Linked DNA regions of Homo sapiens: all the other regions are linked to region 3. Evidence: promoter capture Hi-C in 16 types of primary human blood cells and fetal thymus (Javierre and others, 2016). All regions are on one chromosome and are shown on one strand. The core of a region is centred on a gene start or on the middle of the fragment in contact, and the rest is flanking DNA. Distances in the headings are between cores, read along the strand shown.

Evidence for each region. The method cuts DNA at HindIII sites, captures the fragments that hold promoters and counts their contacts. A CHiCAGO score of 5 or more calls a contact.
Region 1: the fragment with the promoter of TOR1AIP2 here is called in contact with the fragment with the promoter of ARPC5 in region 3 in 1 of 17 cell types (fetal thymus); the score reaches 6.2 in fetal thymus.
Region 2: the fragment with the promoter of ACBD6 here is called in contact with the fragment with the promoter of ARPC5 in region 3 in 4 of 17 cell types (activated CD4 T cells, total CD4 T cells, non-activated CD4 T cells and 1 more); the score reaches 7.7 in activated CD4 T cells.

The regions. Positions count from the first base shown.
Region 1 is chr1:179,875,216-179,879,350 of GRCh38, forward strand. TOR1AIP2 (torsin 1A interacting protein 2) reads right to left here and starts at 2,588. Exons shown (of 7, transcript NM_001199260.2): 1 at 2,478-2,588; 2 at 2,024-2,158. RefSeq lists an enhancer at 2,563-2,922. The HindIII fragment of the contact is 9,006 bases long and covers 1-4,135 here.
Region 2 is chr1:180,499,963-180,504,172 of GRCh38, forward strand. ACBD6 (acyl-CoA binding domain containing 6) reads right to left here and starts at 2,615. Exons shown (of 8, transcript NM_032360.4): 1 at 2,083-2,615. The coding sequence starts at 2,304. RefSeq lists enhancers at 1,022-1,537, 1,538-2,053, 2,161-2,661, 2,183-2,372 and a silencer at 2,583-2,682. The HindIII fragment of the contact is 1,534 bases long and covers 1,979-3,512 here.
Region 3 is chr1:183,634,262-183,638,298 of GRCh38, forward strand. ARPC5 (actin related protein 2/3 complex subunit 5) reads right to left here and starts at 1,522. Exons shown (of 4, transcript NM_005717.4): 1 at 1,256-1,522. The coding sequence starts at 1,398. It also overlaps a transcript of RGL1 not described here. RefSeq lists enhancers at 718-1,218, 1,216-1,495 and silencers at 806-1,024, 976-1,035, 1,116-1,165, 1,646-1,805. The HindIII fragment of the contact is 3,712 bases long and covers 553-4,037 here.

The DNA of each region.
Region 1 (4,135 bases), core at 1,338-3,837, 3.8 Mb before region 3:
TGGTCTCAAACTCCTGACCTCAAGTGATCCACCCACCTTGGCCTCCCAAAGTGCTGGGACTATAGGCGTGAGCCACTGCACCCAGCCCCTGGCTAATTTTTTCCTTGGTTTTCTTAATTACAAAATGGAATAATAGTACTTAGATGAAAGAGGCAGTGTGAAGATCAAATGAGATAATGTGCAATACTGGCAACCACAGGGGCACAAAAGAAGTCCTCAAAAACCGTAAATAATTATTATTTGAACTATTAAAGGCAAAACCAGACAGCTTCATTTATATAATTAAAACCCCAGAAGACACCAATGTTTCAAAATTTGACTTTTTCCAAAAATGTCATTACATTTACATGATAGATACTCATGGTCAAGGGCTGAAGGAAAATCTCTAAAAATCAAACAATTTGATTTGTTGAGGTAGTGGAGTTATAGGTGAATTTTCTTCCCAGAAATTTCGATTACCAAAATTATGTGCACAGTTCATACCAGAGCCATGGCACCAAAAAAAAAAAAATCATGTGCCAGCTCCTTTAAATATTAGTAAAGAGGAAAACAGCCCACACAGTAACAAAATAGGAATTCAAACCCAGCTATGACTCCAGTCTATGCTCATTACCAATGTTAGGGACACGCTTCCTTATTCCCAAGTGCTTGATTTCTGTGCAAAATTTATGGTAATATATGATCGCCCTATGAATTCCTTCTTGTAGGACACAGTTTAATCCAGTAGTTCATATGATGTAGAAATATTAATGAAATTTTAACACAATCAAAATTCTAAATGGTAAATAAAACAGCCAATTCTTCATTCTTTAAATTTTTTTGGAAGTTGTCGAATCTCCAAGTTTATGGGCCTTCACAGTTGACTTAGTGAACAACCTCAAAGTGATAAAGCAGACAAGGCTTTTTGAAGCAAACATTCCTTCAGGAAATTCAAGTGGCACTTCAAAGAAGTGTGGACTTTCCTGGAATAGAATTTTGACTTCTGTGTTCCATGGAAATGAATGGAATACAGAAATTACTTCTTAGGCAAAAATAAGTTATATACAAGATACAATACATTATTAAAACACCCAATAATCCTCAAATAATTAGCTACATTCTGAAGTTAATTTATTTATAAATTATTGAAGCTCTCAAGCTAGCATTACCTCTACATTAGGAAAGAAACTAGATAAAATAGTTCTTAAATGAGTCACGCAAGGTTGCGTAACAAACCAGCAGAAAAACAGGTAATCAAGTTGTGGACTGCACGTTCAGCATAATAAACATTACTGAAGACAGGCACTCAGTTTTCATAACAAATGTTAGTTTTTCAAACTATTCTAATCCACACAAAGTCTTCCAAAAACATCTGTAGTTACTCTACCATGAAGTTCCTTTTTTTATTAAATGTTTCCACTGGCCTTTTATATCCTCATCTTGTGCTCAAAAAAAAAAGCTCAAAAAACATGGATAACTGCCACAGCTTAAAACAAAGAAAGGATCTCTCATACAGATCCAAAATAAAATGTGTTAAAACCTAAAGACAGGTAAAACAAAGCCAGTATGTTTAATCTATGTAACTCATTTCTGGATCTGTGTAACAGTATAAAGTCTGATAATTAAGCATTACTCATAAAGTAGAGAGTACTATGAAATTTGTTAAAAGAAGGAAAAGGCACAAACTTTTTCATCAGGTATTAAATACAATTGGGAGAATGGTACATATATAATATGTAAGCAAAATGGTAGGAGGTCTTACTAAAACTTCAACTTTGCCCTTTTTAGCACCAATTTTTTTTTTTTTTAAGTATTATCTTTTCAGGATTAAGATTATGAATGTCGAGAACCTAGGCATGTTGGGAATGGAGTAATCGCCGCCTACACTAGTAGGCAAATTTCCCACTCACATTTCGAACCCTAAAATAATTCGGCTTCTCACCTTAAAGTCTAAACCCAAAAATTTACTCACATCTTAACCCATTTAATATTTATAAGATTCAGTTTCTTTTTATCCCAAAACAAAAATATACCCCCAACCTACCTCGTTTACTGTTTGAGTGAGGCCAGGCGTGGTGGCTCACGCCTGTAATCCCAGCACTTTGGGAGGCTGAGGTGGGAGAATCGCTTGAAGCCAGGAGTTCGAGACCAACCTGGGCAATACAGTGAGACCCTGTCGCTATAAAAATAAAAAATAAAGTAATTAGTAGGGCATGGTGGTGCGGGCCTGTAGTTCCAGCTACTTGGGAGGCTGAGGCGGGAGGATCCCTTGAGCCCAGAAGTATGAGGCTGTGGTGAGCTATGATCACGCCACTGTACTCTAGCCTCGGTGACAGGGCAAGTACCTGTCTCAAAAACAATAAAAATAAAAATACCATTTGTGCGGTACGAAGGTGGGGGTGGGGAGGGACCGTTTCTGAAAGTCCTTTTCAAAAATTCAAGATATCAGTTTCAATACTAAAACATGGAAAAGCTGCATAGTCATTTTGTTTACTTACAAATTCTGGCGAAGTTTTAAATCGTAAAACTGTTAGTATCAGGAGAGCCCTTCGAGTATTCTCTCCGCTCCACACCGCTCGGCTGCACCCAGCGGCCGCCGCGGCCCGAATGTCGTCCAGGGTCCCCGCCCATATGACAAACACTTTCCGCCGGAAGGCGCCCGTGGAATCCTGGGACTAGTAGTCTCCGTGCCCTGCCTTCTGCCTTCTCCATCCTTCACCCTCTACTGCCAGGTCGTCTGACCCAGCGACAGGCGCGGTAAATGCGCGACCAAACCGCAGAGGTCCCATGCAATCTCATGCTGACAGGATTACAGGCATCTCTGTAAGACGTCGACCACCCTGACCTGAAATTCATAGACTGAAGAAACTCATAGGACCAACACAGTGAGCAGCAGTACCAAATGATAATGGCAAGCACCATGTCCTGGAACACACCCTCTGTGCCATTAAGAGGAGCATGTAATCCAATGAGTTGCCTAATCTAAACCTCAGTTTGCTCGTGTGTCAAATGGGGACAACGTTACTTACCTCATAAGTTTGTTATTAGTAGATTAGATGACGTATGCAGCATTTCTGTTAAATGACAGTAGTGACAAAAAATAGCTGTTTTGATCTACTAATTTTATAAATGTGAAAATTAAGAGATGGCGAGCAATTTACCCAAGAACATACAATTTGTTGGGGGAAAAATGAAGTAAGTCTAAAATTCCTGTTCTTGACCTACAGCAATTCAGGACAAATCTAACCAAATTTCAAGAAGAAATCTATTCATGTAAAACTCCCTTCCCCTTTCCTCTTTTTTTTCCCATAACAGTCCTGACCAACACACTATTTTACTTATTTTGATTTTTGCCCGACTCCTCCCATAGAATATAATCTCCAAGAAGGCAGGAAACATTTTTTGTCTTTTAGTCTATTTTGTTCACTGCTGTATCCCCAGCACAGAGAACAGGGACTGCCTACTACACAGTAGCTCAAGTATTTATTGAATTAATAATTCCTCATTTAATGTGATTTTTGGTGCCTTCACTTCTCAATCACCCTCTCTTGGCAGAAGTGACAGGATTTGGTAACACTCTTGGATGGTGTTTAATAATTAACTGCAAGTCCTAATTCAACAAAAAGAATACTATATTCCATTCACTTTATTGTGTTTAATTAATTTCAGTATAACATTTCCAGGAATTTTCATTTGTATTGTCATTAAAATATTTTTCTATCATTTGTAAGACTGGGGAATAAATGGAGCCAGCTACTATGTCTTTAATTAACTTCCTCCTGTTTAATATTTTAATCATCTTTTCCTTATTAAAATTGTTTGCCTACTTCATTTGTACTACTAAGTCACAACGGATAGATTTATCTCTTTAAATAAATGAACTTCTGCTTACCCTAAAGCAAAAAGTTCCTGTACAAAAAATTTATTGTTCTAAAATGTTTCATTTAAAATAATTATTTTGGCCAGGCGTGGTGGCTCACACCTGTAATCCCAGCACTTTGGAAGGCCAAGGCGGATGGATCACCTGAGGTCAGGAGTTCAAGACCAGCCTTGCCAACATGGCAAAATCCATGTCTACTAAAAATACAAAAATTAGCTGGGCATGGTGGCAGGCACCTGTAATCCCAGCTACTCGGGAGGCTGAGGCAGGAGGATC
Region 2 (4,210 bases), core at 1,365-3,864, 3.1 Mb before region 3:
TGGGGCTGGGCATGCGGGATCATGTCTGTAATAACAGTACTTCAGGAGGCGTAAGCAGGAGGATCGCTTGAAGCCAGAAGCTTCAAGGCTGCAGTGAGCTATGAGTGTGTAACTGCCCTCCAGCCTGAGCAACGAAACAAGATCCTGTCTCTAAAAAAACTTTTTTAGTTAAAAAAAAAAAAAAAAGAACACAGCAGGACCTCTCCCCCAACTTATTTTTCCTTTAACAAATACAGGGGAAAATACGTAACTATGTCAAGAGGCAAAAAGAAAAAAAGTTTACACATTTTTAATAAAACAAAATAGGCTATTATCCAGAATTTCCTTTCCTCTAGTGTTTCAAAGAGCTGTAATTTTCCTGAACTGTTATTTAACTCTTGTCAGCAATTTTTCAGGTATGTTCAAACCTAGACTCCTCAAGTACTTTAAGTCTCTTAAAGCAAATGTTGGCGGGGCGTGGTGGCTCACACCTGTAATCCCAGCACTTTGGGAGGCCAAGGCAGGCAGATCACCTAAGGTCAGGAGTTCAAGACCAGCCTGGCGAACATGATGAAACCCCGTCTCTTCTAAAAATACAAGAAATTAGTTGGGCATGGCGGCAGGCACCTGTAATCCCAGCTACTCGGGAGGCTGGGACAGGACAATCGCTTGAACCGGGGAGGTAGAGGTTGCAGTGAGCTAAGATCCAGCCACTGCACTCCAGCCTGGGCAACAGGAGCAAAACTCCATCTCAAAAAAAAAAAAAAAAAAGTGTCAGCCAGGTGCAGTGGCTCATGCCTGTAATCCCAGCACTTTGGGCAGGTGGATCGTCTGAGCTCAGGAGTTCAAGACCAGCCTGGGAAATGTGGTGAAACCCAGACCCTCTGTAAAAAAAAAAAAAAAAAAAAAAAGTGAGTGTCATGATGTTTTTGCTTCTCTGCAAAGTGTCATGATGTTTTTGCTTCTCTGCATTCTCTGTAGGCATTATACCCAAGTGTCTTGCACATAAAAGCTGCTGAACAAATATATGTTGCTTATGATAAAGCAATTATTTTCCTTCTGGTACCAACCAATGTCACCCTGAATTATAAATTAAACGTGTCTATACACCTCCCTATTTCCAGGTAAAGTTCACAGCCTTAGACTGAGTCAGGAGCTACAATCCAGTTCTGACTGATGTATTTGTATGACCCTAGGAAAGGTGCCTACTCTCTATGGCCTTCAGTTTCCTTTACTGTAAAAGAAGGGCATTATTTCCTCTGGTGTTCATAGCTCTAAAATTTTTAGATTGTATCAAACAGAAAGGAAGACATACTCAACGAAAACATAAATCAAAGATATTTAGGATTTTATAAAAATCACAATAAAAGTTGTAATACTGCATTTTGCATTGCATCACATTATTATTATTATTATTATTTGAGGTGGAGTTTCTTCGCTCTTGTTGCCCAGGCTGGAGTGCAATGGCGCACAATCTTCGCTCACCGCAACCTCCGCCTCCTCAGCCTCCCGAGTAGCTGGGATTACAGGCATGCGCCACCACGCTCGGCTAACTTAGTAGAGACGGGGTTTCTCCATGTTGGTCAGGCTGGTCTCCAACTCCCGACCTCAGGTGATCCTCCCGCCTCGGCCTCCCAAAGTGCTGGGATTACAGCCGTGAGCAACCACGCCCAGCCCTGCATCACATTATTACAATCCTATTATCTTTTTGGATCTCTATATAGTTTTATTAACTTTACCGTATTTACTTCCATGTGGCCCTCTGGGAAAGAGTAAATGAATGATATATCTTATTTTATCCTCATTTTGTAAAGGTTCTTGGGCTGGTAAAATGCAAGATCACTGAATAAGTCAGAGAAAAAAACACAAAAACAATGTCCAGTGTCCAGCTAAATAAACATCACTCCTAAGAAAGCAAACATCTTTTCCACGTTCAGGATGATGCTCATCCCCAGCAGATGGTCAAAAAAAAAAAAACAAAACAAAATACACATACACAAGCTTCATTACACCTAGCTATTAACCATACATGCTTGCTATCAGTTGTTGAGGAAGAAGGCTCCGTGTCTTTCTCCCCCATCCACCCTCTCCCTGCTACTTTACCTGTTTGTACCTGGCATACAGGTACAAGAGCTGCTCCCTGCTGGCCACCTGAATCAGGCCTTGCAGGTGCGCGGCAGCCTTCTCAAACAGCTCGGCCAGGCAACTGGTCTCCTCGATCTCAGGGCTATGGGGGAACTCCACCTCCCCGGAGTCGTCCCCTGAGCTCAGCTCTCCACCGCTGTCGCCGGTGATGGCCCCCGCGGGCAGGAATGATGAAGCCATGTCTCCTTGCTCGCTCCGTCCCTCTGTGTCCGGTCTGTCCTCCTTGGATTGGGTGTAAGGCCGGCTTGGAGGCCTGGCCCACCAGTCTGGGTCGCGAGCCTGAGCTCCAGTCGGACCCAAGCTCAGTCGCGGCGCGCTCCCTCACGTGACCCTGCTCCCTGCCCACTTCTACTCCCTGGGCGTGCAGAGCAGGCTCCTCGACCCTCTGCCGCTCTGCCCAGTCGACCCGGTCTCCTCCGGCTTCCCTCCGGCCAACAGCGCGCTCAGGCTCGCCTCAGGCCCCTCCAACGGAACAGGAGTCGAGGGGCAGTGAGGCCGGGATGCGTGCGAGCGCGGGGCGCGGCTGGCGCTGGGCCGTGGGGGCGGGGCGGCGTGCGTGCCAGCGGCGTGCGATTCTGTGAGGCCTGCTCTGCGCCGGCGGGGAAGCGCGGGCGACGCTACGCTGGACGTCCTTCCCTGCCGGAGGAGAGAAAGTGCCGTCAGCTGTAGGGGCGTCTTTTAATCGTTTCGCTGAAATTAGCAGTCCCGAGCTCCGGAGCCCGCCACCGGGATGGGCCCCCGGGGGTGGGGGAAGGAGGCCGTTTGTGTGGTAGTGTAGCGGTGAGAGCGGAGTCGCGGGAAACGCGAGGCTGAGGACTAAGGTTCCGCCTGCCCCAGATTGTGCGCCCCAAGCGCCTCCAAACAGCCCTGCGCGCGGATCTGTTGCGTGCGCGTTGGGCTCTGTGTTGAATAATGAAAAACTGCGAGATGGGGCTGTCCCGTCTTACTGTGTGACTGATGAGTGGAATCACTGCTCTGCGTGTTTCGCTCTCCACACCTTCGGAGCCCGCACCTCTCCGGGCCCTGAATAATAGGGTTTGGGGAGTTCGGGGCGCGCCTTAGCCCAGTTCTCATCCCGAGCTCTGTCTTTGACACTGTGCTTTGTAGACACTGTACAGTGAAACCAGAAGTACGGCACAGTTCGGCCCTAGAGGAATGCACAAAACTATTTTTTTAACTGTAACATTATGAGTGGTTATGTCCTAAATGTTAAACACAACGACGCACTATATATTCATTTAGTATTCAAAACAATGTAATAAGCACTATAAGAAGGGTACAAAGAAAGTGTTGTAAACAGTGGTTATTGACTGGGGTTAGGCTTGCGACGGGTGGACGGACGGCTGGACAGGATGAGGAAGCAATGAGAGAACACAGGAAGGTGAGAAAGCTTGCATCAGGATTCAACAGACATTCCTTAAGTCTCCAGAAAGTTCCACTGTTAGTCCCTGCTGTCAAGGTGCTCGCAATCCAGTCAAAGGGATGTTTAATGACCAAATTCTTGCAATTAAAAAGTGATTAAGAATAATGTATTGAGGACTTGATCATTACAACATAAGGTAGGTACTCTTATTTTACTACACATAGGAAATCAGCACAGAGTGGTTAAGTAACTTGTCAAAGGCTACACAGCTAGCAAATGGAGGAGCAAGGAAAAAGAAGTTAGCTTTCATGTGGGGTAATAATGGATGATGAACCCGACAAGTAGACTGAAGGAGATATAACATGGACTTTTATATCTTTGTTTCTAGAATTTTTATTAAAGTGAGAATTGAATATTATCAACGGCTTTTTTGGCATCTTTGGAGATTATCTGCTTTTCTCCTCTAGTCTTCGAAAGGAATTATATTAACAGTTTCTATTTTAATGAATTATATTAACAAAAATAAATTTGGGATTTAATGAATTATATAATAGCTAACATTGATAAATTAGTATGCATTATTTCAAAACCTCCTAGTTTTGAGCATTACTTCTGTTCTTGGAATAAACCCATTCTGGTCCTGGTTTGGTTTTTTTAAAAAATTTGTAGGTTCAGTTTGCTAATATTTTCATTATCTTTACAGTTCCATTTAAAGATGTCATT
Region 3 (4,037 bases), core at 272-2,771:
ATAACTCCAAGCACTTAAGTATTTAAATAATGCAAAAGAGCAACAGCTAATTAATTGTGAAAGTTGTGGCAAAGCACTATCTATATATTGATAAATGTCTAATGCTCTATTTAGGTGCCTTTAAAAAAGGATATTGTTGCCATTAAATATTTTCACTCTCATATTTCCCCACTATAACAGGACATTGTTGAGAGTCTTCCTTATGAATACACCCAAGAATTAGAAATGCATACAAATTCAGTGTCTGAGATTTTCTAAAACTACAGCTTCGGTTTTTTTGCAACATTTACATTTTTCTAAAAAAGATGTAATGCAAATGCGAAGCCAAAGTTATGAATATTCAAATATGCAAAAACAGAAACCGGGAACTGACTGCCATATTTTAACTAAAATGGAAACAATTTTAGGATTACAAAAATGATTCTGCTTTATACGAATGACTCATCTTCTATCTTATTCATTGGGGTTTATTTTAAATATTTCCAAGGATTCTCCACACGCATTCCCCGTTGTTTTTTCTATTGTCCTTTTCTTAGCAGGTAAAAGGCTCCAAGCTTCCTTCTAGGAGTTTTGTATTTTTTGTATTCATTCCCCTCCCCCAGTTAACAAATTCTGTACAATGTATATTTTGCCAAATCCCCTTCTTCTTCTTCTTTTTTTTTTTTTTTTAAAAAGGCCAATGGGCTGAAAGCACAGGGACCCTCAATTTTCGAACAGTCCCATCTCCCCCCGCCCCCCGGTAAGGAATAAACTACCTTAACGCTACCAATAACAAAAACACAACAAAAAACAAAACCACTAAGGAAAGATGCAGGTTCCCCACAATCAGAAATTTCTGGAGCTAATGTGACCCCAGGAAATCAGAGTTCTAGGAAGAAAAACTAAGGCGCTCGGCACCAGCCTTCCCCACCAGCCGGGGCCGCCTTCCCCAGCGCCGCGAGGGCGCGGCCGGCGGGACCAGTTCCCGAGGCAGGCAGGCACTCGGGTGCAACCTGAGGAATCTGGGGGCGTGGAAGGCGCGCGGGGGAGGGCAGGCTTCCAAGAGTGGGACCCTCGCGTCTCCTGCCGACTGGGTAGGAAACGGGGGCTTCCCCCTTGCCCTCTCAGAGCGGGCGATCCCAAAGAGACAGGTTAAGCCGCAGGTTGAGAGGGCAGCTCCGCGCCGGTGCCCCGCGGATCCTGCAGGCTCCCGGGTCCCAGGAGAAGGGCGGGCTGGGCTGGGCTGGGGTGGGGAGGGCGGTGAATGCAAGGATATTGCCGCAGGCAGGAGTCCACCTCGCCCTCGTCGGGCCCGGCCTGGCCGTCGCCCCCATCTTCTTCGTCCACGAACTTGTTCTCGTCATATTCATCCACGTCCACCTTCCGGAAGCGGGCCGACGACACTGTGTTCTTCGACATCCCAATCCCGACCAGCGGCAAAGGCCTCTTCTTGGCGCTGCCTCTACCTCAGCAAGCCCAGCCCAGCAACCCACTACCCGGCGCCTGATTCACTTCCCTCTTCCGCTCTGAGGCGTCGCCGACTGCCGCGGCTCGGACCGTTCTGGGCCTGCGCGCTAGCCCCGTTTCTTCCTCCTCAGGTTCGCGCTCCCTTGGCGCCTCCCACGCTGCCCCTGCTCTTCCACGGAGAGCGCGCGCGAGGGAAGGAGCGCGCAGGACACAGCGCGCAGGCGCGGGCTCTCCGCAGGCAAGGGGCGGGGCTGGGCGAAGGAGGCGGGGGCGAGAGGGAGGGCCAAAAGCTGGACCGCGGGCAGAGGTAAGAAGCGATTGGTCGTCCGATTGCGTCACGTGATTCTCGGTGGGGGGGTTCCCATAGAAACGCTTTTCTGCGGTCCAGTCTAGGGGGTCTCAGATTGGCGGGGATGGGCAGCAGCGGCAGGTGGCCTTGGCTTTTGCTGCAGCCGTCAACGACCTATCATCGGGGTCCTGCGTAAGGTCCGGCTGGCTGGGACTTGGCTGTGGGTGGGATGGACTGGCTGCCGGACCGAGTGCCCTGCAGTTGGTAGGAGTATGAGGCAGAGTGATGCACACCCGGGCGCCCAGCATCGTTCTAATTGCCGGAGACATTGCCTCAGACTGTGCGCTGCTAGAGGCTGCGTTCCTGAGCAGGAAGCCCGTTTCCTGGGATTGGAACTACCCTTCTTGGCCAGCGGGAAGTCCCCAAGGACGGAGTCGAAAGGTCAAATCTTATCTGTCAGTGCTGTGTGACAGCATCGCAACGGGATCTGCAGAACCTGAACTCGGTATCAAATCTATTGGGAGGGAGGGGAACGTGTCCGGGCAGGCGCTGGGGTCGGGTGGCAAAACTGGGGTGAATTTGTAGAATTTGGGAAAGGGTCATTGACATCTTAAAATAGGTGGTCGTTTGGAGCAAGAATGCTCGAAAGGGGTGAGGGTAGGTTAGGCTCTCTAGTGCTGGGGGAAAACAAAATGTGGAAGGATTGGTGGAAACCAGACCTTTAAGATTTATATTATGATTTGAGATTTATATGATTCCATCTAGGCCAGATTTAAAAAAATATTTGACATCCCCATTTCTGGAATGTAGGAGATAAAGGCACTAAGACGAAGGAAATGGTAGTTGTGCTGTGTGTATTACACTGAAGAACAAATATTTGCAGGATAAAATTAATTTGGACATTTGGCTGGACACTGCTCGGTATGGGTCCAGTTTAGTTGGACCTCGAGCAGAAGACTGGCTGTTGCCCTGTTGTGTACCACAATCTTTGGTTTCCAGTGCTGTGTTGAAAAGAGCACTAGGCTTAGAATCAGAAAACTCAGGCTTAAGTGTTGACTCTTCCACTCATAATGTTTGAACGAGACATGTCACTTAAAATTCTGTCTCAGATTCCTCATCACTGAAATGGAGCTAATAATGTGCACTTTACAAGATTGTTCTTAGGATTATATATCACGAAAGTGTTTCCAAGCTCTAAAATTCTACATAAATGTAAAATGCATGTTGCTTGTACCATTGGTTTTGGGACTAGTCTTATAAATTTCTTAATGATATATGGTGTTTTATCTCCTTCCTAGAAGAGATGGAAAGATTCTGAAGGGCAGAAACAGTTTTTCTTTTGTATCTTCCTTCCATATGACAAAAAGCTAAGCATGCAGAAGGGACTCGATACATGCTTGATGAATGAATGAAATGTGAAAGACCGTACAGTTTGAGAATCATACTGAGAATAATAAATCAGAAGAGGGAGAGAGATCTCAAAATTAAATATTTGTTGGATATATACATGTAAATACATATGTCCAGTCTTCTTTAAGTTCAAAAAAATACATATATAATGTGTGTATATTTATCTATGCAGTATATTATATATAAATAGAGAGTGGGAGAGAGACCTCGAGAATGGAATACATCCCTTTTTCTTGGGAAGAAGCAATGTGGTGTTTTTCTGTTCCCAATTAAACCACTCTTCTATAAGTATATCATTTAGGTGATAGAAGTAACATTGTTTAAATTAACATTCAAGTTATGAACACACACTGGTAAAAATTCTCTTAGGAATGCCTTAAGACAGCAAAGGAAAAATTTTTACCTGTTGGCAATATTTATTTTAAAAAGCCATATACCAAAGTATAAAATCATTACTATGGTGAATGGCGTTATATAACTTAGAATAAAGATTTTACAATTTTTTTTCAGTTTCAGTCTTTGCTAACTTTAGTAGATGCTAATCAGTATACTTTAGCTGTTAAAGGTGATTGTACTTTTTCTTCTTTTAAATCAAGATTTTTCTTTGAAGAGAAAATCGAACATTAGAGGCACTATTGACAGCAAATGGAAACAGGGATTCAAGAGCTAATATATCTCTTCTCTTACATTTCTATTCTTTTGTATTGCCTTATTTAGGAAATTTTTTATTTTCTTATTTGAGAACTATGAAAGAATCCCAGAGTAGAAATCAGCTTAAGGGAATAGTGAAAGAAATTTAAATAATCGATTGCTCAAGGGTATAATTATTTTGATTGCTCAGAATTTTGCTCTATATGTTTAATGTGTTAAATGTAATTAACTGCCAGCCAAA